2 separate regions of the Homo sapiens genome follow, and region 2 is linked to region 1. The links are contacts of gene promoters, found by promoter capture Hi-C in blood cells and fetal thymus (Javierre and others, 2016). All regions are on one chromosome and are shown on one strand. Each heading gives the region's core, a stretch centred on a gene start or on the middle of the fragment in contact. The rest is flanking DNA. Distances are from core to core; before and after follow the strand shown. Region 1 holds the start of IL6 (interleukin 6). Region 2 has its middle 16 kb from the start of STEAP1B-AS1.

Region 1 (3,906 bases), core at 340-2,839:
GAAGCATCCATCTTTTTCAGCCATCTTTGGAAGGTTCAGGTTGTTTTCTGCCAGTGCCTCTTTGCTGCTTTCACACATGTTACTCTTGTTACATGTCTGGGAAAGAATACCAGAATTGTTATCACCTAAGTGTCCCTAAAACAAACACCACTAGAGGGCCTTTTCATTGTTCAACCACAGCCAGGAAAGTCTCTAAGAAAAATGAAGCTACAACTCATTGGCATCCTGGCAAGCAAATTCCAGTGGAGTGGGGGCACACTTGGGTTCAGTTCCAAGCTCACCTGTGACTTTAGGTGTGTTACTTAATCCTGAGTCTCAGTTTCCTTATCTCCAAAAACCTTCCTTGCAAATTTGTTTTGAAGATTAGACACAATATTTATTTAAAGTGCCTGGCACACAGTAGATACTTAATAACAGCAATTTTGACAATAATTAGGAGAATATAATTCAAGCCATAGAATGTTCCAGCAGGAAGGATCTATGAGATCACCTAGTCCACGCCCAATTTTACTGATGGAGTCCAGAGGTGGTAGGGAATTTACCCAAGATCACAAGGCTGGTTTGGCAGAACCAGAATTCGAGTGTGGGCTCCCAATCTCCCCTCCTGTGTTCTTTTCTTTCTACCAAACAGGACCAAAATACCTTGCATTGAAAGTGGGGAGATGCTTTAACCTATTTATGATTTGCCACTTTGGTGGGCTCTGAGGTATGAATCTTAGCTGGAATGGCTTTGAGGAATCCTAGCCATTGAGTTTACATAACCAAAAAGTACTGCAACTGCTCTGAGAAGCTGAACATGCCTTTCAGGTGGCACTTTTCTAGTCCTTCCAAAGCCCGGGGGACAAAAAGGAGCTTCACAGACCTAATTTTTTGGAAAGGGAAAAGGAAGCCCTGAGAAGCAATAACCCTCAGCTCATGCCAAAGGTGGGCATGGATTTCAGACCCATTCTGCATTTTCCAGAAAGGAAAGGAACTTCCTGACACCAGCAAAGGATAAATACAGAAGTCAGTCTAGTCGGCCCCGTTGGCCTCAAATCTACAGTGCTCTAGAACCCAGCAAAGACCTCCTAATGCAGGCAGCCCCCGGCCACACGCAGGGGCAAGGGGAACGCATGCGCACCGGGCCCTTCAACCCCATCGCCAAGCCTACCCACCTCCTTTCTCAGGGCTGAGATGCCGTCGAGGATGTACCGAATTTGTTTGTCAATTCGTTCTGAAGAGGTGAGTGGCTGTCTGTGTGGGGCGGCTACATCTTTGGAATCTTCTCCTGGGGGTACTGGGGCAGGGAAGGCAGCAGGCAACACCAGGAGCAGCCCCAGGGAGAAGGCAACTGGACCGAAGGCGCCTGTGCCGGAGGGGAGCGAGCGCAGGGGTGAGCTGACAGCACAGCTGGGAGCCTGCCTCTGCTGCTGGCCGCCCGCCAGCCCTCCCTGGGCCACACACCCCTCCCTCACACAGGGCTCGACCGCCGCTGGCAGTTCCAGGGCTAAGGATTTCCTGCACTTACTTGTGGAGAAGGAGTTCATAGCTGGGCTCCTGGAGGGGAGATAGAGCTTCTCTTTCGTTCCCGGTGGGCTCGAGGGCAGAATGAGCCTCAGACATCTCCAGTCCTATATTTATTGGGGGTTGAGACTCTAATATTGAGACTCATGGGAAAATCCCACATTTGATAAATCTTTGTTGGAGGGTGAGGGTGGGGCCAGAGCGGGTGGGGCTGATTGGAAACCTTATTAAGATTGTGCAATGTGACGTCCTTTAGCATGGCAAGACACAACTAGGGGGAAAAGTGCAGCTTAGGTCGTCATTGAGGCTAGCGCTAAGAAGCAGAACCACTCTTCCTTTACTTTCTTTTTTTCTTTTATTAGTGACTCAGCACTTTGGCATGTCTTGACAAAGAGTAAAGCTGAAGTCATGCACGAAGTTTTACAAAGAGAAAAAAAATAAGCTAAAGCTATGTTTTTTGAAAAAAAAAAAATTTTTTTTCAGTGACCAGATTAACAGGCTAGAATTTAGCGTTCCAGTTAATTTGTATTTGTAAAAACCAAAGATGTTCTGAACTGAGTTTCCTCTGACTCCATCGCAGCCCCCCAAGCCTGGGATTATGAAGAAGGTAATACTACCAGTCATCTGAGTTCTTCTGTGTTCTGGCTCTCCCTGTGAGCGGCTGTTGTAGAACTGCCTGGCCATCCTCAAATTTCGTGCAGTTACTTCAAGGCGTCTCCAGGTGGAGTGTGTGACTCCTTTTTGCCACCGCGTGGCTTCTGCCACTTTCTTCACCTGCTTCAGCCCACTTAGAGGAGGTTGGCTGCTGCCCTGCCCTCTCCCAAGTGACCCCTTGGGAATCCTCCCAGTGAGGACTTTGCTCTCTGTGCCAGAGGTTTGCCTTGTGCTGCCAGTGCTCTCCCCATTGCCACTGAGTCTCTTCACCACTGTTTCACTGGGGCACCTGCATGGGCCCCAGGTCTCCTGGAGCCCTGAAATTACTGAAGCCCACTTGGTTCAGGGCAGAAAGGGGGAGAATACTACTCACCTCTTTGTTGGGGATGTCAAAGGAGGACCTTGTGGCATCTTGCAGAGTTTGTGTTTATCGCTCCCTCTCCCTGTAAGTCTTGATTTGAAATCAAAAGAAGCTAGAAGGAAACTACGGACGCAGGCACGGCTCTAGGCTCTGAATCTGCTTCCGCGTCGGCACCCAAGAATTTCTTATTGGGTCAAGCTGGTTCAGAAGCCCTCTTCCCTCAGGATGGTGTCTCTTGCAGGAGGATCCTTGGTCTCATGCAAATGGGCTCTAGACTAGGTTGTCCCTCCAGTCTCCAGAGACCCAGACAGCTCTGAGATGGCTTCAGGCTGAAACCAGACCCTTGCACAACACCAAAACACTTATTTACCAAACATGGTGTTACCTTCACAATCGGTTTCTTTGCTTTGCTAAGAAGAGATCTCTTCAAGATCGATAAAACAGTGACCTCTGTTGGGCATTTACTCAAGTTTTGTTTCGTGCATAACATTTCAGGACCCGCCTGTTGGGGAAAGTGAGGTCATCCATTCTTCACCGATTGTCTAAACAGAGACGGTGGTCCTCTGCCGCGGTGGGATTCTTTGGTGTGAAAATGAAAATGGGGGAGGATGGCTGGATGGTTTCATTTTTAGTGCTCTCCTGTCTTAAGCAACGTAGACACTCCTGAACCAAGTTCTCTTTCCTGCATGAAACGAAGCCACTGCTCCCAGCTCCGCAGCCGTGCACTGTGATCCGTCTATGTAATGTGAGCTTGCTTTTACTCAACTATCTATTTTTTAGAAAATACAATTCAATAAATTTCAAGTACTTGAACTGAGTGACACAATACAACACACAGATTTATCTTTTCAATAAAAAGTGTTTTTTAAATAGGAAGTTCGTGTTCATGATAAAATGTTCAAATAGGACATCAGGGCATGCAGGGAAAAGTGTCTCCTTCCTCTCCTGGCCCCTTTTCCCAGAGGTAGCACCTAATTGCCTGTATTTTCAACCAAATCCTCTGTTATCCTAGCCTGGGAAAGGTTTTCTCGTCTTCCCAGCTGTTTGATCCTGGCTGTTACATCAAGGACCTGTGCCCTTGTTTATTCACCTATAAAACGGGGGTAATAATAGTTCTTCCTTTCTAGGGCTGTTGTGAAGATGGAACGTGATGCAGTGTAAAAAATTCCTGGCGCATAGTAATCCCACAATACATGCTAGCTCTTTGAACATTCCTTGGCTCAGAGTCTCTGCCTTGGAGAGCTCTTCCAGCTCGGCTATATCGGTTCACCTGGTGTCTTGCCTATGAAGGAATTATGAATGAACCAGGCCTCTGTGCCAGCAATGAGCTGGTCTCCCAATCATTTTCCCTCAAAAGAAATGAGATTCTATGTTTTGTTGAAAATGTT
Region 2 (3,620 bases), core at 953-3,452, 180 kb after region 1:
CCCGACCTCGTGATCCACCCACCTTGGCCTCCCAAAGTGCTGGGATTACAGGCATGAGCCACCACACCCGGCCTATTTAGCTCTTTAAAAAAAGAGTTTTGAATTGTGTTTTAAGTAATGAATCTGACAGTCACACTATTTAAAGATTATTTTATTTACATAAGCCAATAAAAGGAGAAAGTCAAAATGAAGAACCATTTTTAACTCCAAGAAAAAATTCACAGGTTTCCTGTGGACTTGTTTATTATTACAAGACCCAGGAGGTCATATTTAGTGATTAAGTGTATTCTGGTTGATGAGCCATTAAATCTCTTATGCAAACACAGTTTTCAAGAGAACAAATGAGATCCTTTAAAATAGGCATATGTGCAGTTTCCAATAACAAACATACATGTTCTCAAAGTTATGGGTCAACAGTCCGTTAGATAATTGTGAAAACAAACCTTTACATATTAGGAAAGCTTTTGGCTCTTTTTAGTAAACTGATTTTGACAGAAAATTAGCTTCATCTGCACAAGGTACAGAAAAAAGTATAGACTTATTTTAATGTTGCAGTAATTGGTTGGTAAATATTCTCTAACTTTTCCCTCTAATCTTTCTAAACAATGGATCATGGCTAACCAGAAGCCCTACTTGTATCTACCAAAAGCACTTGTATCTACAACTTTTTCATTCAAAGCTGTCATAATACCATTGAAACTTGTGGTCCATAGTTTCAAACTGTAGTTTTAACCAAGAATGAATCAAAGTATTCTGGCTTACACTTTTCTACTTCACTCAGTCCTCTAAATAATGGGCATTTAGACTACTTGCAGTTTTTTGCCTAACGAAGTCATTGCTTCAGTGGTCTCTTTCTACACATGTACAATTATCGTGGAGGATAGGTTCTTAGAAGTGAACTATTGTGTCAAAGGTTATGTGCATTTTACATTTTATGAGTATTGCCGAATTTTTAAAAAGAGGTTGTTGCAATTTACATGATATATTTTAATGTATGTTTTCCACATCCTTGCTAACATCTTGTGTTTTTTTAATTTTAAAAACTTTAAAATATTTTGCTTAAGTGCAAGGCAAAGGAGAGTGGTTTCCTATTGTCATCATTTCATTTCTTTAATTATGAGCCATATAGGTGTCTTTTCCCATTTATGCTTCTTTCCCAATCTTCTATGGTACAGAAGGTTTGTTTGTTTGTTTGTTTTTTACTAATTTGCAGCTGCTCTTTATATGTTAAGTAAATGAGTCCTCTGACATCTGTGTTGCAAATGACTTTTTTCTTAGTTGTTTTATCTTTTCACTTAATTTTTTCATCCAAAAAACTTTAACTTTTATATAGTCAAAATGGTCAACCTTTGTCTTCGTGGCTTCTAGTTTTTGATGATACTTTGAAAACATTTCCTTTCCCTAAGGTATAGAAAAATTCTTTCATATTTTCTCCTGGAATTGGGAGGCTATATGACATAGTGATTAAGTGTATGGGCTTTGGAGTTAGGCTGCCTGTGTTTAAATCACACGTGCTGTGTGATCTTGGCTAACTTAACTTCTCTGGACTCAGATGTGTCATTTGTACCTATCATACAGGGATATTGCGAGGTAATGCCTGACATAGGGTAAGTGCTCAATCAATGTTATTGTTATTTTTAATCCAGTGCCCCTATGACTTTACTTAAGTTTTTATTCATTAGGAGTTAGTTTCATGCAAAGAGTAAGCCAGGGATCTAGCAATTTTTTCCCAAATTAAACAGTGAAAAAGAAGAGGCAACATTATTATTTGTAGGTGTCATTGTACTCCAAATGAAAAAACTAAAAAACGAAAGCTAAAAAAAAAAATAAGAGATGGTGACAACGTGGCTTATTACAATAATTAATAAATTTTCTACTACAAAAAGTAGACAGAAAACTAATGGAAGAAGTGTCTTCTTAATGTCATTTGTTGATTAATCTCTTTTCTCACTGATTCGGAATGCCAGCTTTATCAGACACTAAATTCACATTTGTATTTGAGCCTGTTTATTAACTTTATATTTTTTATTGGCTTAACAATTCCTTATTAAACACTGAACTGTTCAATTATTTAGCTTTATAATTCATTTTAATATGTAGTAGGGTTAGTTCTTTGCATTATTCTTTTGTTTCATAATTTCCTGTCTATTATTACATGTATATTTTTCCATATGAACTTAGGATTTTAGTTAAATTATAAACTAATAGGGAAGAATTGACATCTTTACATTATTTGTTTCTTGTATAAGAACAAGATATTTTCCTTAGACCAGTCTTCTTTTATACTGCAGAGGAAACTTAAATTTTTCTTTATTAAAGGTCTGCACATTTCATGTTAGTTTTTGTTCTTGTGGCTGTTGTCTATTGGTTCTTTTCTTTCATTAGTTTTCTGTCTACTTTTTATATGTAGGAAAATGATTAATTATTGTAATTTAGCCACTTTGCATTATTCTTTTAAATGTTGGTAGTTTCCCAGTTGATTCTTTTGAAGTTCAATGATATCTACAAATAATAATAACGCTGCTTCCTCCTTTCCAGTGTTTAAACCTTATTTTGTTTCTTTTGTCTAACTGTATTAATAGAGCCTCCAGAGTAATGTTAAATCATGGTAGTGATGGGGGCATTCCATATGGGCTTCTGAATTTATATATCTAGGGTTTTGCCATTCAATATGGTGCTGGATTTGGTTTGAGAGATTTCTTGAAATTGTGGGCATTCTCTGGTGGCCTTTCAAGTCTCTATTTCCCTTTTATGTTGCCAATAGTCCCCAAATCTTGCTTTGGGAGTGACTATCATTTCTTATTCTCAGTCCTGTGGTTCTGGTAAGAGGGGCCCCACTTGTACCTGTGGAGAAATAAGTCTCCCCTAGATTCCTCAGTGCTCCTATCTAGAAGCTGTAGCCTCCTGAGACACAGAAATGTGTATAATGTAAAGATAAAGAATGTTTGCCTTCTCCTAGCAATGTTTTACTTTTCATATACTGTGAGGATTAGGTCTGTAGTCATTTGTTTGATTAATTGCTCTGATCAAAAGGGATAATAAAACTTTTCTTATCTCCCTAGGAAGGGCAAATGGTTACAGTCCAGACTATTCCCCTAGGTTAGCCACAAAGTGCGGAGTACTAGCTCCCTAGGGATGCACTGTTGCTTTTGATTTACAATTTTGGCAAAGAAGTCAGTTCCAGAAGAGTTCATTTGGCCCTTCCAGTTATAATAGCCCTACTCCACAGATCAGGGAACCAGTGCGGACATTCTGCCAGTTGCAAAGTTTATTCTTTCTACACACCCTGAAATTGAGGGTATAATCACAGTGAGGGTCCATGTTGGACCCAATATAAGAGGGACTTGGGCAAGGAAGATTCAGCACTTGATCTGCAGGAGCTCCCATACTGCAAGGTGGTCTCTGAAGACTCATGTAAATTAAGAGACAGTATCTAATAACTCCTGGGAGATTTGTATATTCCCCTCTCCCACATCACAGTTATCAGGGTAAATGGCCACTGTTTGCTCTGGGAAAACTTTGGGAGAAAATTCGTATCATACGCTATGACTGCTTTGCAGGGTCTTCATTCTAGGGCTCCAGGTCTGTGAAAGAGGTTATGCATCTCCCTAGGATGACTT

The links. The method cuts DNA at HindIII sites, captures the fragments that hold promoters and counts their contacts. A CHiCAGO score of 5 or more calls a contact.
Region 2: a fragment that was not itself captured here is called in contact with the fragment with the promoter of IL6 in region 1 in 6 of 17 cell types (monocytes, M2 macrophages, M0 macrophages and 3 more); the score reaches 7.6 in monocytes.

Annotation. Positions count from the first base shown.
Region 1 is chr7:22,724,883-22,728,788 of GRCh38, reverse strand. IL6 (interleukin 6) reads right to left here and starts at 1,589. Exons shown (of 5, transcript NM_000600.5): 1 at 1,508-1,589; 2 at 1,155-1,345; 3 at 1-96. The coding sequence starts at 1,526. IL6-AS1 (IL6 antisense RNA 1) reads left to right here and starts at 1,169. Exons shown (of 2, transcript NR_131935.1): 1 at 1,169-1,221; 2 at 2,084-3,394. RefSeq lists an enhancer at 940-2,139 and a silencer at 2,125-2,174. The HindIII fragment of the contact is 10,105 bases long and covers 1-3,906 here.
Region 2 is chr7:22,545,198-22,548,817 of GRCh38, reverse strand. No RefSeq gene overlaps it. Among named protein-coding and RNA genes, the nearest start is that of STEAP1B-AS1, 16 kb to the left of the region's middle. The HindIII fragment of the contact is 3,477 bases long and covers 464-3,620 here.